7 separate regions of the Homo sapiens genome follow, and all the other regions are linked to region 1. The links are contacts of gene promoters, found by promoter capture Hi-C in human tissues and cell types (Jung and others, 2019). All regions are on one chromosome and are shown on one strand. Each heading gives the region's core, a stretch centred on a gene start or on the middle of the fragment in contact. The rest is flanking DNA. Distances are from core to core; before and after follow the strand shown. Region 1 holds the start of GAS1 (growth arrest specific 1). Region 2 overlaps LOC102724080 (a long non-coding RNA gene). Region 3 overlaps LOC102724080 (a long non-coding RNA gene). Region 4 has its middle 160 kb from the start of LINC02834. Region 5 has its middle 140 kb from the start of LINC02834. Region 6 has its middle 130 kb from the start of LINC02834. Region 7 overlaps LOC105376126 (a long non-coding RNA gene).

Evidence for each region. The method cuts DNA at HindIII sites, captures the fragments that hold promoters and counts their contacts. A contact is called where the count stands out against the background at its distance.
Region 2: a contact is called between a fragment that was not itself captured here and the fragment with the promoter of GAS1 in region 1, in 2 of the 25 tissues and cell types used here (H1 embryonic stem cells and bladder).
Region 3: a fragment that was not itself captured here is called in contact with the fragment with the promoter of GAS1 in region 1 in 1 of the 25 tissues and cell types used here (adrenal gland).
Region 4: a fragment that was not itself captured here is called in contact with the fragment with the promoter of GAS1 in region 1 in 2 of the 25 tissues and cell types used here (IMR-90 fibroblasts and dorsolateral prefrontal cortex).
Region 5: a fragment that was not itself captured here is called in contact with the fragment with the promoter of GAS1 in region 1 in 1 of the 25 tissues and cell types used here (IMR-90 fibroblasts).
Region 6: a contact is called between a fragment that was not itself captured here and the fragment with the promoter of GAS1 in region 1, in 2 of the 25 tissues and cell types used here (IMR-90 fibroblasts and aorta).
Region 7: a contact is called between a fragment that was not itself captured here and the fragment with the promoter of GAS1 in region 1, in 2 of the 25 tissues and cell types used here (IMR-90 fibroblasts and dorsolateral prefrontal cortex).

What each region holds. Positions count from the first base shown.
Region 1 is chr9:86,945,939-86,949,378 of GRCh38, reverse strand. GAS1 (growth arrest specific 1) reads left to right here and starts at 1,873. Exons shown (of 1, transcript NM_002048.3): 1 at 1,873-3,440. The coding sequence starts at 2,600. GAS1RR (GAS1 adjacent regulatory RNA) reads right to left here and starts at 681. Exons shown (of 7, transcript NR_049794.1): 1 at 386-681. RefSeq lists silencers at 2,663-2,742, 2,813-2,882. The HindIII fragment of the contact is 5,107 bases long and covers 555-3,440 here.
Region 2 is chr9:86,512,688-86,516,127 of GRCh38, reverse strand. All of the region lies in intron 1 of LOC102724080 (a long non-coding RNA gene), which reads right to left. Among named protein-coding and RNA genes, the nearest start is that of TUT7, 160 kb to the right of the region's middle. The HindIII fragment of the contact is 4,230 bases long and covers 1-3,440 here.
Region 3 is chr9:86,528,692-86,532,131 of GRCh38, reverse strand. It overlaps LOC102724080 (a long non-coding RNA gene), which reads right to left. Exons shown (of 2, transcript XR_007061636.1): 2 at 852-2,309. Among named protein-coding and RNA genes, the nearest start is that of TUT7, 180 kb to the right of the region's middle. The HindIII fragment of the contact is 5,489 bases long and covers 1-3,440 here.
Region 4 is chr9:86,547,804-86,551,243 of GRCh38, reverse strand. No RefSeq gene overlaps it. Among named protein-coding and RNA genes, the nearest start is that of LINC02834, 160 kb to the left of the region's middle. The HindIII fragment of the contact is 5,141 bases long and covers 1-3,440 here.
Region 5 is chr9:86,564,033-86,567,472 of GRCh38, reverse strand. No RefSeq gene overlaps it. Among named protein-coding and RNA genes, the nearest start is that of LINC02834, 140 kb to the left of the region's middle. The HindIII fragment of the contact is 5,641 bases long and covers 1-3,440 here.
Region 6 is chr9:86,580,694-86,584,133 of GRCh38, reverse strand. No RefSeq gene overlaps it. Among named protein-coding and RNA genes, the nearest start is that of LINC02834, 130 kb to the left of the region's middle. The HindIII fragment of the contact is 5,159 bases long and covers 1-3,440 here.
Region 7 is chr9:87,290,711-87,294,150 of GRCh38, reverse strand. All of the region lies in intron 1 of LOC105376126 (a long non-coding RNA gene), which reads left to right. Among named protein-coding and RNA genes, the nearest start is that of LINC02872, 140 kb to the right of the region's middle. The HindIII fragment of the contact is 3,370 bases long and covers 1-3,220 here.

The DNA of each region.
Region 1 (3,440 bases), core at 624-3,123:
ACGTGCTAAGGTTTGGGTCCCACTATTCTAAAGGAACTCAACAAAAATTCAAGTAAAGATGAAACCGAGTGCTGACTTTGTTCCTTATGGGCCTAAAATAACAAAGCTTTAAAGACAAGAGGGGATTTTTCAATTGTCTAATTGGCTTCGAACCTTACCTGTGGAGGGATCCCAGACACAGAGAAGGTGTCTGAGTTGTCCAAGTCCTCCAGGCCGGACTGAGAGGACAACTCCAAATAATAGAGAAAAAAAAAGAGACAGAGAGCCAGGGATATGGTTGTTTTGATGTGCCATGAAGTTGCAGCCTTTCTGGATTTTTTTAGTATCGATTTATATTGCTGTTTGTCTACCAATACTCAAATCAGAGCAAGACGGTCCGCCTTACCTCAGTCTGGCTCTTTTAAGGTTTGATTTTGGTTTTGGGGACTGCAGAGGTGCAGCTTCCCACGGCAGACCAAGCGCCTCTGAGGAACGCAGCAGCTTCAGCAGGTACAGGAAGATTTCCCGCAGCCGGAGGAATCTCCTAGTGCTGGGCCTCCGGCTGTGACTTTTGCCATTTCAAATTCACTTGGCCTCTAGGGAGAGGCAGACAGCCCGACGCTGAGCGCGTCGGAGCCCCGGCTCCCTCTGCTTCTGGAGAGGAGATTTAGCCTTAATTTTTGTGACAGATGGAGTTGATAGTCTCTCCACGGAAAGGGGAGGAAAAAAGCGCCAGTTTTTGACAGGCCGCAGACGCCCGCTGCCTCTGGTGGCGGAAGGCTGCGTTGCGCCCCAGTTAAGGTAGCTCGGAAACTCCCTCGCCGAGAAGGCAGAGGTTTCCTCTGCAGAGCAGCCTCCCTTAAATATACTGAGGGGCTGAAACTTACACTTTAATATAAACCTTTGGTGCGTGCCCATTTATTCCGTCTTCTGTCCTGTGACTGCGGCCAGGTGGTAATTGCTCGACATTCCTGAATATTTTTAATGCTAGTTAAATTTTTTCATTATTGCACGTGTTGCAAGCTTATCTTCCTAAGAAATTATTTCGGTTGATTGGATTTCGGTCTTGCAATTTGAAAACGATGCCTGGCGCACGGGCGGTACCTGCCAGATGGCCTAGCTGGGGCTGGGGGGTGGCGGGCGGGTTGTAAGCATCTCATCAACATCTCCCTAATAAAGTGTGTGCTTCTTTCTTGTATGCTTCTTTAAAACAGTTTCAGTCTCACATTTTATCTCTGGATTCTCCCCTTCCCCTCTGTGGTGATCAAGACCCAAAGACAGGGAGCCTGGAAGATAAACTGAGTTCTGAATCCAGTCGAAAGCACAGATGGGGGCCAGCGAGAATTAATAAAACTACAAAAAAAAAAAAAAAGAAAAAAAAAACAAACAAAAAAGGCCCGTGGCTGAGCCGGATGCAAACAGCTGCCCCTAAGCCCTGCCCGCTGGTTCTGTGCGCGAGCTGGGGCTGCATATCCGAGCCTCCTTAAGAGTAGGAGGAGCTCCGGGCCTCCGTCAGGCTCCCTAAGCCGTTCCTTTCAAGCCCTGAATGCCTGAATGTGAGCTGCCCACCACCCTCCCGCCCTCCCCCACTCCGCAACCCCACTCCAGCGGCTCGTAAAAAAAAAAAAAAAAACTTTCAACAACAACAGGCAGGACCAATAGCATCTCGAAAAGCCGGGAAAGGGGGCCGAGCAAAGGGCGAAAGAGAGTGGAGAAAGGAGAAAGCGGGCAGGCTCGGAGCGCGCGGGGCCGGGGCTCGGCGAGCCGGAGGAGCGTTGCTAATGTTTTTGTTTGTTTGCTTTTCCATGCATGCATAATGAGGGGGCACCGCGGCACCACGCGGGGGCTCCCGGCCCACTTTTGTATTTAAAGCCTCGCTGCTAACGAGTCTGCAGCCGGGCTCAGCGGATCCGCTCCCCGGGCTCTTGGTCACCCGAGAAGCTGCCGCCGAGTGAAGCCAGGGAGCCGCTCTCCGGCAGCGCCGACTTTCTTGTTCTCCCCGCGCTTCCCGGAAAGAGCTCCCCGGAGCTCTGCGGAGGCCGGGGTTGCCGCGGGCGGAGGGGGAGGGGACGCGGGGCGGCCGGGCCGCGGGAAGGCGGGCAGCGCGCGGACGCCGGGCCAGGAAGCGGCGCGATGCGAGAGACCGCGGCGGCGGTGGCGGCGGCGAGGCACTGAGCCCAGGAGGAAGGAGCCGCCGCGGCCGCAGCGCGAGCAGCCGGCACGGGGACAGCCGGCCGCACAACGGATCTGCAGGCGCGGAGCAAAATGCACCCGCCGCGCCGCGCGGTCCTGCAGCCCCGCCACGGCCCCGCGGCCCGCACCCCCCCGGGGCGACAGTGAGCCTCTCCCGCCACCACCGGGGGCCGAGCGGAGGGCTCTCGGGTGGGAGAGCGGGACCAGATCTCGACAGCTGTTCATTTCCAGGAAGCCACCGCAGCCAGAGCGAAAGGGGACCTTCTGCCACCAGCGGGGCATCAGCCAGCGGCGCGCATGGATTTATGAAGACACTCATGCAAGAAGTGGGCAGGACTTGGACAAACTTTTCCACCGGCTCCGCGTCCGCCGCTCCCCGCGCCTCGTCTCCTTTCCCCTCCTCTCCCGGCGGCCGCCGCTGCCCGCGATGGTGGCCGCGCTGCTGGGCGGCGGCGGCGAGGCCCGCGGGGGGACAGTGCCGGGCGCCTGGCTGTGCCTGATGGCGCTGCTGCAGCTGCTGGGCTCGGCGCCGCGGGGATCGGGGCTGGCGCACGGCCGCCGCCTCATCTGCTGGCAGGCGCTGCTGCAGTGCCAGGGGGAGCCGGAGTGCAGCTACGCCTACAACCAGTACGCCGAGGCGTGCGCGCCGGTGCTGGCGCAGCACGGCGGGGGCGACGCGCCCGGGGCCGCCGCCGCCGCTTTCCCGGCCTCGGCCGCCTCTTTCTCGTCGCGCTGGCGCTGCCCGAGTCACTGCATCTCGGCCCTCATTCAGCTCAACCACACGCGCCGCGGGCCCGCCCTGGAGGACTGTGACTGCGCGCAGGACGAGAACTGCAAGTCCACCAAGCGCGCCATTGAGCCGTGCCTGCCCCGGACGAGCGGCGGCGGCGCGGGCGGCCCCGGCGCGGGCGGGGTCATGGGCTGCACCGAGGCCCGGCGGCGCTGCGACCGCGACAGCCGCTGCAACCTGGCGCTGAGCCGCTACCTGACCTACTGCGGCAAAGTCTTCAACGGGCTGCGCTGCACGGACGAATGCCGCACCGTCATTGAGGACATGCTGGCTATGCCCAAGGCGGCGCTGCTCAACGACTGCGTGTGCGACGGCCTCGAGCGGCCCATCTGCGAGTCGGTCAAGGAGAACATGGCCCGCCTGTGCTTCGGCGCCGAGCTGGGCAACGGCCCCGGCAGCAGCGGCTCGGACGGGGGCCTGGACGACTACTACGATGAGGACTACGATGACGAGCAGCGCACCGGGGGCGCGGGTGGTG
Region 2 (3,440 bases), core at 511-3,010, 430 kb after region 1:
TGTCTCCATAGCTTTAAATATCTCTGAAAATAGGGAAACACAACTGTTCCAGACTCCACTGTGCCCATAAAATCAAAGCAAACTAATTTATTTAGGAAGAGCCCAGTTAATTGAGGTTGGTGATTCCTGAGAGTAACAAGGTTCTCAAGAAATTGATACAAAAATGAGTTTTATAGAGCAGTATCTCCTGGGTTATGGAAAATAGAGGAAAAAAAAGATTTTGTTCTGTACCTTTTAGTATGGGATCTTTTTCAAAGAGCAGAACAGACATGAATGTACCTACTTCATAGTCATAGTGTGCAATTTAGATGGCTACAATCATAAAGAATGCCTAAGACAAAACAGTTTTTGCTAACCCACTATCGCCAGCACCGAGCATAGTACCTGACACATAGTAAACATTCAAAAAAGTATTTTATAGCAGTGTTAAAACATGATGAACTTGGACTTCATGTAGCCGTTCTGAAACTGTTTTCCATGATGCTTTTAATCAGTGACAAACTGGACTGCCAAGTGAAAAAATACACAAAAGAAGCTTGGAATTTCTTTCAAAATATACTCCCTTTCTCTACTCGCTCTGGGAGTTGGGAGGTGGGTGCAAAATCATTAAAAGATAAGTTTTCTGGCATGAAACCAGAAACAGTTGAAAAGGTGCTATTGTACAGCTGTCAGCTCAAGGAACTGTGCTGCAGAACTAATAAGAAAGATATGGGAAACCCGTGATTTAATCAGCTGCGGACTCATTACTCAACGGTACCTGCAGGGAGAAGCATCCATCAGGGTGTCAGGTATATGTTGCATAAAGAGAGGGGAGATTTAGCAACTGGGCAAAAGTTAAAGGTGGGAGCTGTCATTTACCCACATACTTCTCACTGGTAGAAACTTCATGCTGGACCACTTCACCTCCCTTGAAAATAAAGAAGTAGTTCCACCAGGGCCACCCAAAGCATTTCACGGAGGACTGACTTATACTGCCTATATACTCTCTTTTCACCCTCTGGCCACAAAACTCATTGTATAACAGTCAGATGCCTTACACTCCAAGAAACTGATTTTACATTCACCTATTAATGTAGCAGCCCTTCCAAACTGGAGGGCAGGGAACACATGTCCATGGCTGCCTGACAGAGACCTTCAATGCAAAGGTGGGTGCATGAGAATGAGGGGGTCACTGATGGAGAAAGGAAACTAGAAGCATCTCAAAGCAGCCACCCTCCAATACTAACCAATCCTTACTGCCATCTCTAGGACACAAACAAGGTAGGAAGGATGAAAAGAAAGGTGAAATCACTAAACTGGCTTCTGGTAGTATGTTCTTGACCTTGTAAAGTAGTGGACTGAAATAGCATAAAAATGGAGCTCCTTGCATCTAATTGGTGAAACCAGGCTGTATGCCCTCATGTGCCCTCTGCCTGGAAAGAACACACCCATACCATCAGGGCAGGCTGCACACCAAGCAACCCTGGGCTTCCTTTTTCATTTTTGATACTTCCCGTTCTTTCCTTCCCAGCTAGGTTGCAAGTCTGTGCTATGTCTCTCTTTTGCATCTCCATTATCATGGAAGAGTCTTGAATAAGCTAAAGATGATTCAGAAATTATTAGTCCTTTCTGAGCAGTTAATTGAACATGTCGGACCACACCATAGAGACCAACCAAAACAGGAATTTACCCTCTTTTTAAAGACATCCAAAGAACAAAATTCTACATATTTTATTCTCTAATCCAATCCAAAATCTTGCATAGAAAAATCAAACTTACAAAATTTTATCACACAAGGAGAGGGATATGCAAGGGGGAAACTAAATATTGGCAAAGAATGTAATAAAAAGTCTGGGCACGATGGCTCACGCCTGTAATCCCAGCACTTTGGGAGGCCGAGGCAGGTGGATCACGAGGTCAGGGGTTCAAGACCAGCCTGGCCAACATGATGAAACCCCGTCTCTACTAAAAATACCAAAATTAGCCAAGTGTGGTAGTGCACACCTGTAATCCCAGCTGCTCAGGAGGCTGAGGCAGGAGAATTGCTTGAAACCTGGAGGCGGAGGTTGCACTGAGCCAAGATCGTGCCACTGCACTCCAGCCTGGGCAACAGAGCAAGACTCCATCTCAAAAAAAAAAAAAAAGGAATGTAATAAAAATTGACACCCCTTTCCCCAAGAAATCAAGGCTTAGGTTGGTCTCCCTTTACAGATAGAGCCAGCTACAAACTATGGAGCTCAAAGAGGAATGAAATACCAGGGGCAGAGCTGCGACTGGCATGGGAAAGTCAGTTGGGTAGGCCCAAGGCTCTTGCTACTAAATAACTCCCTGTCCCTTCTACCTGAAACCTCAGATCATTTATCTTGCCAGGCCACTGGTGTCTTTCCTACAAAACAATGTACAGACACCCCAGGAAAGTTCCCTTCTGCCAACATTATCTCTTGCTAGACATAAACACCTACTTTCAAAGCTTGAAATTTATTAGCACCCAAATGATGTTTATTACCCTGCAGCTTGTGATCCTGTCATGGATTGTATCAGCCAAGGAGACTGGATTAACTCACATACCTAGGCATTTATGGCTCTGAAGTGAGCCAGTGTTCAAAAAGCGTCCTGAGGACAGATGGAGTTGCTTGACCCACAGGTGGATGAGCTTCGCTGGAGCAGGAAGGCCCTGGTCCTGGCTGAAAGAACACCTAAGACCAAGGAGAGAATGCAAAATGATGAAGCAGGAGCCTGCACCACAACCAGCAGCCAATCAGAGAGGAAAAGGAACCAAATGCTGGGCAATCAAATGCAAGAAAAAAAGCAGTGAGATTTTTCATTGAAATAAAAATGCAAAAAAAAAAACAAAAAATCAGTGTCACTGGAATTTATTTCTAAAGGAACTTTCTGAGTAATCTATGTACAAATATAAGAGGAATTAATTTTTTAAATTGTGAGGTTTAAAAAGCATCTTTTAATACTAGAGATGTGTACGTTTTTGTAAAGCAATTTCAACATCTGCAGACGTAACCAGAACACTTCAAGAGAAAATGAAAATTTAAATAAACACTGAAGGTTATTCAGTGGGTTAGGAATTCAGGGAAAGAGAAAGAAGCAGAGAGCCCAGTGAAATTTATCTAAATTCTAAAACTCCCAAAATGTAGGTGGGAAAAAATACCAATCATTGTATTCTTTTGTTATTTTCTGTGGTAGTTCTTATTTTTTGTTAACTATTATTTGTTGTTATAAGGAAAATACAATGTGACAGTGGCAAACAAGGCATTTATACGATAAGCTCTGGCCTTTGTCTTTGGGTGCTATCTCTGAAACAGGAATAACTATGCTGGGTGTCTGTTGGAAGGCAGTTTGAAAGGGAGACTTCTAGATTTGTCTCCCTAAGTGATGTGTGTGTCCAAGTCCCGTCATCATGGTCCTTCCATTAGTTTGCCCATTTGTGGTCCCCACTGCTGTAGATT
Region 3 (3,440 bases), core at 270-2,769, 420 kb after region 1:
GTGATTTATACATAAATATCTATATAAATATCTGTAATAGCTCTTGGGGAAACCACATAAAGTTACCGTGCAAAGTGCATGTAATTGCCACATGGTATTTGTTACACATATCAAGTGTAAAACTGAAAAAGATGTGGCTATTTAACAAAAGTTTAAGCAAAAGAGAAAAAGGCAAATAACAATGAGGTAAGAATTGAAATTGCTTAAATGCTCATTCAGACGGGAGATTCGGGCAACCTCCAGGCCCACCAGCAAGAAGTGAGTCAGGTTTGAAGTTAGAAGAATTGATGTGAATCCCCTGGTTGCCATGGTTTGCAAATAACTTTTCTTCAGGCAAATCATAAATGATTTACAACCTCTAGTAGGCTTGTCCTTGATCAAAATCATCAAGAAGGTAAATATTGTCTTTGGGGAAATTTTCTCATTTCTTTTCTAATATTGTTTCATTCATTCATTCATTCATGAAGCATTTATTGAGTTCTTGCTGGGAGCCAGGCAGCCTGTTCGATTCTACAAAAGTAAAACTGACAGAGATCTAATCAAGTAGGAGAGATGAGGCCTCATGGTTTCATAATAGAAGCAGCAGCTCCGTTTCTGACACGCTCCCCATGTGCTATTAATTATCCCATTACTATGCACAAATACCCCACACTGCAGGCTCTCATTCTTTTAACTGTGCAAATGAGGGTGCTCAGGAATTTACCCAACATCTTGTCTCCAGGGACCAGCTTTCATCTGCTCTGCTCTTCCCCAGCACTGTTTTGTACGAATGTAACATGAGCCATGAGTATAATTTTAAATTTTCTAGCAACCACATTTAAAAAGAGATAAAAAGAAAGAGGGAAAAGTAATTTTGATTATATATTTTATTTAACTCCATATAACTCAAAATTTCATACTTATCCACACATTTACACATACATGTATATAAATATGCACACATATTTACACCTATAAGTCCAAATATGTACGTATATAAATATGCACATATTTGCACATATTTACACATGTTTACACCTTTTTTTCCATAAACCGTGGTCAACAATTCATATTTATCCACACATTTATACATACATGTATATAAATATGCACACATATTTACATTTGTAGATACGTATGCACCTGTGTAACTCAAACAAAGGTTTCACAGAACTGACTCTTACAGAATGTGACACACTCAGGTATCTTCTATTAAATTCTCTTCTAGAATACTCCTTTGATGCTGGCTGTGATCCAGCAACTTGATTTCACAGCCACTCTGGGTTGGAACTCGCAGAGGCTGCTGGGCGGGACATGTGCTATGTGAAGCTCCAATACCCATGTCCCTCTTTTCTGGCAACACCACGCCCATTTCCTTGGTGCAAGTGTGTCAGTGAAGCTGACCCACCTCTGGTTCCAGGACAAAGCCAATAACTCCCACATGGCCCACCAGAGCCTTGTATCTGGAAGCCACCTCGACTGACTCAAGGACGTGCGCATGGCCAATCACAGCTTATCTCACAATTTTTACTTTAGTGATCAGGGTAAAGAAAAAAACTTATACTATATTTGGGAGAAGACAGGAGCAGAGGGCCTGCTGAAAGCAGGAAAACAGAGAAGACAAAGTTTTGAAAGTATTGCTTAATACCTGGATCAAGCCATGCCTGAAACTCCATCTAATTTAAAAGTCGTACTTTTAAATTATATGAGCCAATAGATTACCCTTTTTTTCCTAAGCTTAGTTGAGTTGGGGTTTCTGTCAATTTAAACCAAAAGAAGCTGATTGAAAAAATCCTCATACGTGTCTCGCAGATGCTCAGTGCCTTTTTATTGCCTGATTTGGGAAAGCTCCAGGCATTTTTCTTCCCAGCAATTCTGTGTCCTTTACAATTGTCCTTTGCTTTTCTCTTTAATTCAGGATCCTTTCTTTATGCATTCTTTTCACCATAGTATGACTGTCTCATAACAGTCTTAACTGGGCTACTTCTTCTTGGGAAATTTGCATTTTTAAACTCACCAGTCAAACGAGTTATCTGTCTAAGAATAGAATTTCAGCATTGTGGTACAGGCAGGTAGGGAAAATATTTGGGAACAAAGATTCACCTGGTGCCTGCTCTGAAAAATTGTAAGCCTAGTTCTGTGGCCAGGGGCTGGTATTTTTCAAGTAAAGGTCACACTTTTGTTGTTGTTGTTGTTGTTGTTGTTGTCGTTGTTGTTGTTGTTGTTGCTAAGTGATGAGTTCTTTCCTGAAACTCTACATTTTCCTCCGGGCTTGTGACTCTTCAAAAATCTCTACCTTAATTTGAACAGGGTACCCAAATAGGTATATCCTGTGAAAAGGAAAATATGAAGCTTCAAAAATAAATGGCCTGCCAAGATTTCAGAGCTGCAAAAGGTTGTGCCTAGAACTGTCAAATGTCAAAAATAATTACCAGGTAGAATGTGACTCATACACCCAGCAGGCATGATCAAAACTAATCCTTCCTGCCTTCATCTGTCTGGACAAAGTTAGGTAGGAAACCTGCCTAGCCCAGCGCCTTCAGGCCCCATAGATTTGGAGAGGGATAGCCCTCAACCTCATATTGGAACATTCTCTTTAGCTTCTAGGGGTGATTTTATATACTCACTAGCTAGTTGCTGTTTTGACTTGTGTATCTGTTCTTATAAACATATAACTTTTCATAAATGCACAGATTATATTTACTAGGATGTTTTAGCCTTTTATTGTACAAGAAAACATACTACAAATGCAAAAAAACTATATCAAAAATGGAAATCTTGAAGAATTATTATAACTACCATGCAGATCAAGAAACAAAATTGTGCAGCCACCCCAGATATCCGTGTTTTATGCCCCATCCCAGACACTATCCCTCTCTCCTTCAAAAAATTATCACTACTGGGACTTTTTTTGTTGTTGTTGTTGTTTTGAGATGGAGTTTTGCTCTTGTTGCCCAGACTGGAGTGCAATGGCATGATCTCAGCTCACTGCAACCTCCGCCTCCAGGGCTCAAGCGATTCTCCTGCCTCAGCCTCCCAAGTAGCTGGGATTACAGGCACGCACCACCACCACCACGACTGGCTAATTTTGTCTTTTTATTAGAGACGGGGTTTCTCCATGTTGATCATGGCTGGTCTCGAACTCCCGACCTCAGTTGATCGGCCTGCCTCAGCCTCCCAAAGTGCTAGGATTACAGGCGTGAGCCACCATGCCCAGCCCGGGACTTTTATAATATCTTTTTGTGTGTTTCTTTGACATCTTATCGCTCACGTATGAATCCTTAGACACTACCGCTTGGTCTTGCTCATTTCCTTTTAATTTGAAAGGTCTTCTTTTCTCTATATCATTGGTTCCCTCTCCATCCTTGTCTTTTCCTTACAGGTTATCTATTGCAGAGGCCAGCATGCTATGGTTAAAGGTTCTTTTTCACTCCGTGTATATTTTATACCTGTTACCCCTC
Region 4 (3,440 bases), core at 557-3,056, 400 kb after region 1:
TTTGGAGGTAGGAATGCCAGATTTAGCAAATACAGTCATGAGTCACTTAACATCAGAGATAAGTTCTGAGATATTAGGCAATTTTGTCATTGTGCAAACATCAGAGTATACTTACACAAACCTAGATAGTATAGCCTACTACACACAGGCCATATGGTAGAGCCTGTTACTCCAAGGCTATAAACCTGTACAGCATGTTACATACTGAATACTATAGACAATTGGAACACAAAGGTAAGTATTTGTGTATCTAAATATAACTAAACATAGAAAAGGTACAGTAAAAATATGGTATTATAAGCTTATGGGACCACTGTTGTATATGCAGTCCATCATTGACCAAAACATCCTTATACAGCACATGACTAAAAATATCAGATGCCTGGTTAAACTTGAATCTTGGGTGAAGAATGAATAATTTTTAGTCCCAAATATTATGAGACATACTTACACTAAAACAATTATTTATTTTTAATTTGAAATTCAAATTTAACTTGGCATCCTGTACTTTATCTGGCAACAATATTTGTAGGGAAATTGGCATTTCACAATTGGGCTGTGGCCCCATCTTAATTCCTGAGCCTGAAGACATGTTTCTCTACTGGGAAAGTTTCATTTAACAGTCTCTGAAAGGAAAACTCTTGAGCAATTAGAGAAGAATAGGATGCCTGCCTTGTCAACAAGATTGGCTCTCTCATCCCCCGCAGCAAGTGGGGTCATGGCCACATCCTCCTATCCATCCTTCGTTCCATTTATGAAAGCTAGCTATGTAAAACATATTGCTTTACTCTACAGATGAGTTCCTGAATGGAGTATAAGTGAAATCACATCTTTACTAGAATAGGAGAACATCTTTACTTAAAACAACCATGGAAATAAACACCACACACACATACAAAATCCCATCCTCTCTTACCACAAAAGACCACTCTCTAATTCAAACTATATTGCATTTCCATCACAGTTTTCCTGAAACTGGGAGATACACACAGATATATATAAAATCTTGATCATAGCCTGGCATAAAAGACCACAAGTATTTTTAACTGTTTTCAATGAAAAAAAAAAAATCTGCATTCCCTCCTCACAGCTCACTTCCATTAAGCATTCCAGTACCACCTGCTTCTGTTTAAGCAAAGAGTTGCCCAACGTTTTTTCCCCAAATTGCGTTCAATTTAATTATGGCTTTTGTTTTAACCCACACCACTTGGTGATTAAGGCAATAGCCAAAACCAAAAAGAACCCCAGAAACTGAAATAAAAGTTTGTTTCAAACACTTTGAGAAGTTATCTTCATTTCCATATATTCCTTGTCCCTGCAATACAGCCAACAGTGACATTAAAAACTCTCCAGGGAAAATATCCCTGTTATAACCATTTAGAGATAAGTTACTACCATGCGTTCTCTTGGGAAACCTGAAAGGATTCTCTAAGGTTTCTAGATACTTTAAGTCAGGGTCTGGCTCTTCTTGGTTATTTATGAATTACATCAGAACCACATAAAATTTCATGGCAAAGACACAGTGGAAATGCCTTTATGCATGCAGCTGGTTAATGTGCATGGATTATTCATGAAGCACCACCAACCCAAGCTAGTCTAAAGGAAACAACAGGACAAAGGGCTCAGCAACCAGCCTGACTCACTGGAAATCTGATCGGATGAAGTTAGTGTAGTCATCAGAACTGAGGCCACCATCAGATCTGATTTCCGATGAGTTTCAGCTGAATCTAAGCAGCAAATGGGAAGCAGCTGTCATTGCTGATGCTACAGGGATGGGAACCTGGGCCTCTCTGTTCAGAGATCCAGCCCTCCAAGATCTACAAGTCTTAGGGATTAAAGGACACTCAGTAATATACCCTGAAAAATTCATGGGTATGAGCTCAGCTGCATGACTCTTAATGAACAGCCAGCTCATTTTTTGAAGGGGCAAAGACTGGGAACAAGGCCATGTAAGCATGTGTAAAGAAGCATCCCAACAGAACCTAAAAGACATAAGAGCTTTCTCCAGGGAATGGTGCAAAGCTAAGCATCAAGGACAGAATGTGGCCTCTGGGTTTCTGCCTTATTTAAAATCCAAGCTAGTTTTTTGTGTTCTCTTTTTGTAGAAGGAGATTGAAATATGCTGAGAGCATAATGAACTTTATCAGAGGAAGGCACAGATGCAGTACACAAATGTTCCTTGACTTATGATGGGGTTACATCCCGATAAACCCAGCATAAATTGAAAACGTCATGAACTGAAAATGCTTTTAATACACCTAACCTACCGATCATCAGAGCTAGCCTACCTTAAATGCATTCAGAACACTTACATTAGCCTATAGTTGGGCAAAATCTTCTAGCACAAAGCCTACTTTAAAACAAAGTGTTCAGCCTCTCATGTAATTTATTGAACACCATACTGAAAGTGAAAAACTTCCAGTATTGGTATCTGAAGTAGGGTTTCTACTGGATGTATATTGTTTTCACACCACTGTAAAGTCAAAAAATTGTAAGCAGAACCATCGTAAGTCGGGGAACATCTGTACTCCTGCGGCCATAAAGAAGAATGAGGAGGTTCAGATCGGGCTCCAAAACTTCAGAAAGGTTCAGATCGGTGCTTAAAAGCCAACCTTCAAGCCAGTGTCCAATATGGATGAAGCCACTGAATGCTAACACATATGGTAATGGTTCCGCGTTCTCATAGCTAGAAGCTAGAGGTAAAGAATTATCTTGGAAGAAAGGAAATAGAATAAGATACAGAGCTAAAGAAGATAAGAACAAGAAAGAGATAAGAGGATAATCCCCAATGGAGAGTGGTGAGTGATGCAAAATCACCCACGTGTTTCTCATGGGAATGTGTCATTGGCACGTGGAGCACCATCTGTGTTGGGCATAAGGATGCCCCAACCAGGCCCCCTTTACAGAATGAATCTCAGCCATTGGGAGTGCTACTGGCATAAATCTTCACTGTCAGCCCCTTCCTAGGACTGCCTCAGCTGCAGATAGCCACTTTGTCTGAGGTTATGCCCCTTCCTGGGGCAGCCCATATCTGATTGCTGTTCTATCTTAGCCCAAGTCGGGCCAACTCTGAAGAGCCATCCTAGCTCCAGAGCTGCCATGAAGTCAACTAAGACAGCCATCGGCCTGTATTCTGCCTACTACTGATTCCTCTTCCTTTCTATGACATTTCCCTTCCAAGGGACACTCCTAGATAAACTTCCCACACACCAAACTCCATCACAAAAATCCACATCCTAGGAAACTCAACCTGCAACACCATCTTCATCTGAGATTTCCTTGACAACTTTCTAGGGCAAACTTGCTAAATCTCCAGCTGCATCAATGGGTGATGCTTGGACAATGCATTTCTCATGCCCCAAAATCACTCACAGGAAGCTTGGATCATCAGCTTATTGGAGCATTTGACTTGAGAACATGTGTTTCTTGGATAAGAGAGT
Region 5 (3,440 bases), core at 411-2,910, 380 kb after region 1:
TAACATAGTGAAGAGACAACTCAGAATGGGAAAAATATTTGTAAACATACATCTGATAAGGGGCTAATATCCAAAATACATAAGAACTCAAACAACTCAATAGCAAGAAATAACCCAATTTTTTAGAAAAACGGACAAAGGAGTTGAACAGACATTTCTCAAAAGAAATAGAAATAGCAAACAGATATATGAAAAATGTTCAAAATCTCTAATCATCAGAGAAATGTGAATTAAAATTGCAATGAGATATCACCTCATACCCTTTGGAATAGCTATTATCAAAAAGACAAATGATAAGTATTGGTGATGATGTGGAGAAAAGGGGACCCTGCATACCACTGGTGGGAATGTAAATTAGTACAGCCATTTTGGAAAATAGTATGAAGGTTGATATGGTTAGACTCTGTGTCCCCACTCAAATCTCATCTTGAATTGTAATCCCTGTACTCCCCATGTGTCAAGGCAGAGACCAGGTGGAGGTAATTGAATCATGGGGACAGTTTCCCCCAAGCTGTTCTCATGATAGTGAGTGAGTTCTCACAAGATCTCATGGTTTTATATGGAGCTCTTTCCCCTTCACTCAGCACTTCTCCTTCCTGCCGTCTTGTGAAGAAGGTGCCTTGCTTCCCCTTTGTCTTCTGCCGTAATTGTAAGTGTCCAGAGGCCTCCCCAGCTATGCTGAACTGTGAGTCAATTAAACCTCCTTCCTTTATAAATTACCCAGTCTCGAGCAGTTCTGTATAGCAGTATGAAAACAGGCTAATATAGTAAATACAGTAAATTGGTACCAAGGTAGTGGGCCACTGCTATAAAGATACCTGAAAATATGGGAGCAACTTTGGAACTGGATAACAGGCAGAGGTTGGAACAGTTTGGAGGACTCAGAAGAAGACAGAAAAATGTGGAAAAGTTTGCAACTTCATAGAGACTTGTTGAATGGCTTTGACCAAGTGGACAATGAACTCCAGGCTGAGGTGGTCTCAGATGGAGACAAGAAACTTATGGGGAACTGGAGCAAAGTTGACTCTCACTATGCTTTAGCAAAGAGAGGGGACTGTACCCTACAAAGCCCAGGGGCGGAGCTTCCCAAGGCCGTGGGAACCCACTTCTTGCATCAGCATGCCCTGGATGTGAGACATGGAGTCAAAGGAGATCATTTTGTAGCTTTAATATTTGACTGCCCATCTGGGTTTTGGACTTGCATTGGGCCTGTAGCCTCTTTGTTTTGGCCAATTTATCCCATTTGGAGTGGGTGTATTTACCAATGCCTGTACCCCCATTGTATCTAGGAAGTAACTAACGTGCTTTTGATTTTACAGATTCATAGGCAAAAGGGACTTGCCATGTCTCAGATGAAACTTTGGGCTTGGACTTTTGGGTTAATGCTGGAAAAAATTAAGACTTTGGGGGACTGTTGGGAAGGCATGATAGGTTCTGACATGTGAAAGGGACATGAGATTTGGGAGGTGTCAGGAGTGAAATGATATGGTTAGGCTTCATTTCCCCACCCAAATCTCATCTTGAATTGCAATCCCCATAATCCCCACATGTCAATGGAGAGACGAGGTGGAGTAATTGCATCATGAGAGTGGTTTCTCCCATGCTATTCTCATGATAACGTGTGAGTTCTCATGAGATCTGATGGTTTTATAAGGGGCTCTTCCCCTTTCACTCAGCACTTCTCCTTCCTGCCACCTTGTGAAGAAGATTCTTTACTTCCCCTTTGCCTTCTGCCATAATTCTAAGTATCCTGAGGCCTCCCCAGCCATGCTGAACTGTGAGTCAATTAAACCTCTGTCCTTTATAAATTACCCAGTCTCAGGCAGTTCTTTACAGCAGTATGAAAATGGACTAATACAGAGGTTCCTCAAAAAACTAAATGTAGAATTGCCATATGATACAATAACTCCACTTCTAGATATATAGCTAAAAGAATTGAAATCTGTATGTTGAAGAGCTATCTGCACTCCCAGTTCATTTCAGCATTATTTACAATAGTCAAGATATGGAAGCAACCCAAGTGTTCATCAATGGATAAAGAAACTGTTTTGTCTATACACAATGGAATACTATAAAGCCTTTAAAAAGAAAGAGGCCGGGCGTGGTGGCTCACGCCTGTAATCCCAGCACTTTGGGAGGCCGAGGTGGGTGGATCATGAGGTCAGGAGATCGAGACCATCCTGGCTAACACAGTGAAACCCCGTCTCTACTAAAAATACAAAAAATTAGCCGGAAGCGGTGGCGGGCTCCTGTAGTCCCAGCTACTTGAGAGGCTGAGGCAGGAGAATGGCGTGAACCCAGGAGGCGGAGCTTGCAGTGAGCCGAGATCGCGCCACTGCACTCCAGCCTGGGCGACAGAGCCAGACGCTGTCTCAAAAAAAAAATAAAATAAAATAAAATAAAATAAAAAGAAAGAAATTCTGTCATTCTTGACAATGCAGATGGAACGGGAGGACATTAGGCTAAGCCAGGCACAGAAAGACATATACAGTATGATCCCTTTTATATATGGGATCTAAAAAAGTCCATGTCATAGAAAGAGAGAGCGGAAAGGTAGTTACCAGAGATCGACAGAGGGGGAAGAATGAGGAAAAAGAAAATGTTGATCAAAGAATGCAAAATGTCAGTACTGGAAAAATAAGTTTTAGTCATCTATTGCACTACATGGTGACCACAGCTGATAATAATGTATTATATATCATAAAATTGCTTAAAAATGGATTTTTAACGTTCTCCCCACAAAAAAAAGAGAGTTGGTAAGGTGAGGGATATCAGGTTAATCATCCGTATTGAATCTTTCTGCAATGTGTAAAATATCACATTGTACCCCATAAAAATACACCATTATTATTTGTCAATTAAAAACAAAATAAAGTAAGGTGAGTCTTGTAGACAGAAAAAAATTGAAATATTTTGGGACTGGGTTTGTTGCAAATTGATCCTGTGTTCCTTTTAGGACCCATGAATGAATGAATGAATGAACAAATGAATGAATGAATGAACGAACGAACAAATAGATGATACAGGACATCAGGAGAAGACCTGGAGAGAACAAATCCCCAAGAAGTCCTTGCTGTGCCCTCTAAACTGGGAAATATTACCAACTGTGTGCAACTGGTTATTTCACTTGAGTTTTGATATTGAACCAAAAGGTTTGCGTTTTCATTCCTCTTCATTCTTATTTTTTTTTACTTTTTCTCATCTTTTTAAAGAATTTTCTGGCAAAGTCCAGCCCTTCCAGTCAAGCCTAGATTTGGCTGGGGAGTTGCTCACAGACAGAAAAAGAGACCACACAGAGGCACCGATACAGGATTAACATTTGGCTCTCCTCTTCTCTTACGTCTTTTTTTTTTCTTTTCTGTTTAAGCTCATAGATGATTTCAGCTCTCACTAGAATCTTCACTGAAAGTCAGTACAGTTACACATATGGTGAAGCTCAA
Region 6 (3,440 bases), core at 574-3,073, 370 kb after region 1:
TTTGCATATAGATTTTGTCATTATCATTAAGGTTTCTTTTTTTTATCCAGGTATTTAGAAGTGAGTATTTTGTGTTATGAAAATAAGAGCCTTTTCTTTTCCTTTGGTTATTTCCTTTTTTTTTTTTTAATCCAATGATGCTCCTTTATGGCAGTGTTTTTACTTTCATGCTTCATAATTCGGGGATATGAGCTCATTTACAACAAAAGGAGGTTTTCACATGTGTCTTCCATCCCCAGCCCATGGAGATATCTGGGAGTGGTTTTGATTTTACTTTGCTGAGCCCCACAGCCCTCACTAGTCCAGGACATCAGCTTAGTTTCCACACTGTCACTGTGGTTTAAATCCACCTGCAAGCTGCCCCCTGCATGCTGCCCCCACTGTGGGCTTGAGGCTCTGATTTGTCAGGGTCGTTCTGTGAACTAAGGTCACACTGAGAGTGTCAGGCCTGGGTTTAGACTTTGTGCACCATATGAGAGAAAAGAAACATAGTTCAAGTGTTTCATGGGCTCAAGTCTCGTGGCTTCTTCCATTTACTCAATGGCTGATTTTGGGCAAGTTGTTTAACTTTTTTTTTTTGAGAAGGAGTCTTGCTCTGTCGCCCAGGCTGGAGTGCAGTGGCACCATCCCCGCTCACTGCAAGCTCCACCTCCCAGGTTCACGCCATTCTCCTGCCTCAGTCTCCCGAATAGCTGGGACTACAGGCTCCTGCCACCATACCTGGCTAATTTTTTGTATTTTTAGTAGAGGCAGGGTTTCACCGTGTTTGCCAGGATGGTCTCGATCTCCCGACCTCGTGATGTGCCCACGTTGGCCTCCCAACGTGCTGGGATTACAGGTGTGAGCCACCGTGCCCAGCCAAGTTGTTTGACTTCTATAAGCATCAACTTTCCCATCTTGAAATGGAAAGGGTAGAAACAGTACCAACCTCCTAGGATTTTTTGAAAGATGAAATGAAGAGTCTTGGCACAGAGTAAGTGCTCAATAAATGTTAGTGATGATTGTGGTTACCTTTGTATTGTTATTATGGTTAAGAATGTAATTTTTTTAAACTGTAATCTTAAATTCACGGGTACATGTGCAGGACGTGCAGTTTTTAACATAGGTAAGCGTGTGTCATGGGGGTTTGTTGTTGTACAGATTATTTCATCACCCAGGTACTAAGCCTAGTATCCATTAGTTATTTTTTCTGCTCCTCTCCCTCCTCCTACCCTCTGCCCTCCAGTGGGACCCAGTGTCTGTTGTTCCCCTCTATGTGTCCATGTGTTCTCATCATTTAGCTCCCACTTATAAGTGAGAACATGTGGTATTTGGTTTTCTGTTCCTGTGTTAGTTTGCTAAGGATAACGGCCTCCTGCTCCATCCATGTCTTTGCAAAGGACATAATCTTGTTCTTTTTATGGCTGCATAGTAATTCATGGTGTATATGTATCACATTTTCTTTATCCAGTCTGTCACTGATGGACATTCAGGTTGATTCCATGTCTTTGCTATTGTGAATAGCGCTGCAGTGAACATATGCGTGCATATGTCTTTATAATAGAATGATTTATATTCCTTTGGGTATATACCCAGTAATGGGATTGCTGAGTCAAATGATATTTCTGTCTTTAAGTCTTTGGGGAATCGCCACACAGTCTTTCACAATGGTTGAACTAATTTACACTCCCACCAACAGTGTAAAAGTGTCCCTTTTTCTCCACAACCTTGCTGGCATCTGTTATTTTTTTACTTTTTAACAATAGCCAAGGAATGTAAATATTAGTGAGGCACAAAAATTGGTGCACTGTATGCACATACAGAGCACAGTATACACCTAATAAATGTTAACTCTGTTGGTGGCTGATCATTTCAAATAACAAGAATGTTTCTATTCGACTCATTCATTTACTCTTTCAAAATGTGTATCTCTCACATGTAATTAATATAAAATATTGAAATATTTTATATGCTTTTCTTTTTCTCATTAAGGAAAAGAATATAAAATATTTCAAACTCTAGCACTTCTCAATTTAGATGCTAAATTTTCATCAGAAATACTTCATCTGCATTTATTTCATAAAATGTACAATTGAAAAAGTAAATGTATGTACTCAAGTTGTTCTAAAGATACTTAAAAGCTTCCCAATAATTGAAGCAGTTATCATTTTAAAATTTAAGTTTAAATAAATAAATAGAATTTGAAAACCAGGCTCAGTTGCACTAGTCACATTTCAAGTAATAGATATTTGATGGCACAGATGAAAAGTGTAGCTCCAAACACCCTGCCCCCAGTATTTAGCCCTTAAGTTGCACCGTCCATTTCTAGTCTAGTGCTGTGTTTCCTGTTCTTCCCTGAGTGCCACTCACTTACTCTGTATACAGTAAGGCCGGCCCTGTGGAAGATAAAGATGGAAGACAGATTAAAAAGAGGAGAGGTTGGCTGGGCTCAGTGGCTCACACCTGTAATCGCAGCACATTGGGAGGCCCAGGTGGGTGGATCGCTTGAGACCGGGAGTTAGAGACCAGCCCTGGGCATCATGGCAAAACCTTGTCTCTACAAAAAACACAAAAATTAGCCAGGCATGGTGACGTGCACCTGTAATCCCAGCTACTTGGGAGGCTGAGGTGGGAGAATCACTTGTGCCGGGAAGCGGAGATTGCAGTGAGCCGAGATTAATCGCCCCGCTGCACTCCAGCCTGGGCCACAGAGCGAAACTGTCTCAAAAAAAAAAAAAAAGGGGGGGGGGAGAGAGAGAGAGAAAAGGGATTTACAACCAATGCATTCCAAAGGAACAAAGCTAATTCATCACCTGAACTCTAGTGACATTTTCTCGACACTACATTCAGAAGTTCCACAGGAATCCCACCTGCACATGATTTGGGGGTGTTTCTGCACCTAGCTTTTCATATTTCATGGTGGTGGGGATGGAGCCTTGTGCTTCGTAAGTATTCAGCAAATGCGTATTGGATGAACAGCAGGGCAGAGACAGAAGGGAGAGGATGCTGGAGGAGGGGAGCCCCCAGGTAGCTCTGCTTAGATGACCGACCAGATTCTATCTCCTGCCCCACCCCACTGCCTTTGGTGGTGGTACAGAACTGGCACAGCCAGGACCTGGGCCTGGGCTGTTCTCAGGCATCAGTTTGAGGGGATGAAATAGAGCAGAGTATCCATCCCAGTAGAAATAATCCAGAGACTAAAAGGCCCGCCTGAAACAAGACACCAAAGCACAGACCTTTGAGAATTGCTGAGAGCACTTCCAGAAGCTTGAGAAACACTTAGAAATAAGTATACAGGAATAAATGCGGTTGCGCAAACTCAAATGATTCCAACACGGAGGAGATGACAGGAACTCCTTTTTAAAAAGTCCCCAGGAATCACACAAAGAGCTCTCAGACTACTTTCACTTTGAGAAGGTCATGTGCAAAGGTGAAAACGAAGATGCGTAAGTGTTGCCCAC
Region 7 (3,440 bases), core at 286-2,785, 350 kb before region 1:
ATTTTGGATTTTTTTTCTGAAATGTTTTCAATGTACTTTATTTTCTGTTTTTATAAGCTTTATATAACTTCAGAAAAACATAATCCAAGACATATCTTGGTTAGAATAATAACCAAGAGGTTATTATTCATGTATTTATTTATTTACTGTAACATGGAACACAGTGACCTGCAGAGTAGACACTGGGTGTGGCTGTGTGTAGAACTGTCTTTAGAGGATATTAACTAGAGGTGACATTCCAGGGCTTTGCACCTTGGTGACTTGGTTAGGCAGGTGGCAGGATGCAGATGCAGAAAATTAACATGTATGTGCCACCTACCCTTTTACATCCAAGGCAAAAAGGATGAAATAGTTTATTCTCTCCTTCCATTAGCCCCCATTTCCTTGTTTTTTAAATTAATAGTACTTTATTACATTCAATACAATGTATAAATCTTTAAGTGTTCAGCACAATGAATTTTGACATTAAATATAAACTATATATAATATATAAAAATATATATAAAATATATATAATATATTAAAATATATTAAATATAAAACACTTCCAGGCCTGGCACGGCGGCTCACGCCTATAGTCCCAGCACTTTGGGAGGCCAAGGCGAGTGGATCACTTGAGGTTGGGAGTTTGAGACCAGCCTGACCAACATGGAGAAACCCCATCTCTACTAAAAATACAAAATTAGCTGGGCATGGTGGCACATGCCTGTAATCCCAGTTACTGGGGGACTGAGGCAGGAGAATCACTTGAACCCGGGAGGCGGAGGTTGCTGTGAGCCAAGATCACTCCATTGCACTCCAACCCGGGCATGAAGAGTGAGACTCTGTGTCAAAACAAAAACAAACAAAACAACACTTCCATCATTCTAGCAAGTTAACTCATGCTTCTTTCCAGTCAAGTGCTGTTATACAACTGACTCCAAGTAACCACTGACCTGCTTTCAATCCCTATAGATTAGTTCTCTATGTTCAAGGACTTAATATAAATGGAATAATATTAATACATATATATTCTTTAGTTTATCCTTTATTCATTCAGCATTTTTTTGAAATTTATCTATTTTATTATGTATATCAATAGTCTCTCATTTTTTTTGCTCAGTACTATTCCATTGTATGGATATACCACAGTTTGTCTATCCATTTTCCTATTGATGGATACCTGGGCTGCTTCGAATTTTTGCTTATTGTGAGTAAAGCTGTTATGTATGTACAGGTGTTTTGTGAACATAGTACATTCATTTCTCTTGGTATATAGTCTAGGTGTGTGATTGCTAGGCCATAGAGTAGATGAATATTCCCATTTATCAGAGAGTGGCAATGGGTTTACAAAATGATTGTACAATTTTCAGCATCCAGCAGCAATGTGTGAGAGTTCTAGTTTCTCCACAGCCTTGCCAACACTCAGTAGAGTTGGTTTTCATTTTTAGCCATTCTGGTAAGTGTGGAGAGGTATCTCATTGTGGTTCTGCTTTGCATTTTTGTGGTGACTAATGATGTTGAGCACTCTTTCTTATGTTTATTGACCATTTTAGTATCTTTTTTTGGTGCGTAGTGGTATCTCACTGCTGTTTTGCTTTGCATTTTTATGGTGACTAATGATATTGAGTACTCTTTCATATGCTTATTGACCATTTGAATATCTTTTTTTGTAAAGTGTCTATTCAAATCTTTAACAATTTTGGGGGGTTATTTGTGTTTTTGATATTTCACTTCCCTTTGAAGAGTTAATTAATATGCTTTAATCTAGAGCCAACTGCATGCCTGGTATTTCAAATTTGGTATCTTACTTAATAAATACAACAAACGGTTGAAGTCAGTGTATCACTTCCATTTTACAGAATAGGAAACCAAGGTTCAACTGATTGAAAACCACCCTCGAAGTTGAAACTTTCTAACTGGAAGCATTGGGACTCTGGTATTCATTTTCACCAGTTTTGCCTGAGAATAAGGTGGAAGGAAGATATTACGGGAGAATATTCACTATCCTTGAAATCGATCTTGACTTTTTAAAAATAGTTTTTAAAAAATATAATTTTAATTTATATTTATATATTTACAGAAAAGTTGCTAATATGGTACAGAGTTTCTATGTATCCGTTGATTGTATTTATTTATTTAAATGGCTATATTGAGATATAATTCATTTACTTTACAATTCATTCATTTGCAATGTAGAATTCAATGATTTTTAGTATATTCACATATATGTGATGTGCAACCATCACTACCATCCATTTTAGAACATTTTCATCACCCTTTAATTATCACCTCTCCACACCCCCATAACTCCTCTCAGCCTAAGCAACCACTCATCTACTTCTGTCTCTGTAGATTAACCTGTTCTGGGTATTGCATATGAATTGAATCATATAATATGTTCTCTTTTGTAACTGGCTTCTTTCGGTCCTGGCTTTTTTCAACACTTGTGGCATAAGACTGCTTGTAGTCATCAAGATTCTTGTCCTGCTCTTCCTGGACACTCTGTTGACCACATTTCCAGTCCTTGTAGTTAGGTGTGGCACACGTGTCTGAGTTCGGGTGAATGCAGAGGTGATGTGAGTGTTGTTTCTAGGCCGGGTGCTTTGAAAATCAATCTGAATGAAACATCCTAACGCCCATCCTCACTTTCTTTTCTCTTACTTGGGTCCCTAAATGAAAGCAAAACTTTCTCTTGACCTCTATTGGACAAATGTTTATTATGTTAAATTAGCCTCTGAGATTTAGAAGTTGTCTATTACACAAACTAGTCTTATTTACCTTTCCTCCTAAAACATCTCTAAAAGCCCATATTGTGGAATACTTCTAATGTATCAAGAACTCTGATTGTGCATTGTCTTTTTTTATTAAGGTGTCTTAGGTTGTCCACTCATCCAAGACCAGAAATGAGGAAACTTGATTCCTTTAAGATAGTGCTCTTGGCCGGGCGTAGTGGCGGGCGCCTGTAGTCCCAGCTACTTGGGAGGCTGAGGCAGGAGAATAGCGTGAACCCGGGAGGCGGAGCTTGCAGTGAGCCGAGATCCCGCCACTGCACTCCAGCCTGGGCGACAGAGCGAGACTCCGTCTCAAAAAAAAAAAAAAAAAAAAAAAAAAGATAGTGCTCTTGGATAATCAGCACACATTTTTGTTACTTCCAAGCAGTCTTAAAAATAGATTTTGTTCCTAAGCTTATACATCATATTTAGCTGAAAAGAGTCAGAGAGAACATTCTTAAGGAATAAGTCACATATATCTGAGACATTTATCAACATCCTTATAACAAATTCTTCAAGCTTAAGACTGATTTCACCATCTTTGCTCCATAATCTCCCTGCACATTGGAGGCTCCGTAGGAAACGCAAGGAACAGAGCTATGTACATTGCAGGGCATTTTGTGAATTATAAAAATCTGCTCAGTTCTAAAGATCAAAACTTCTACCCATCTGGGATGTATAAATCCT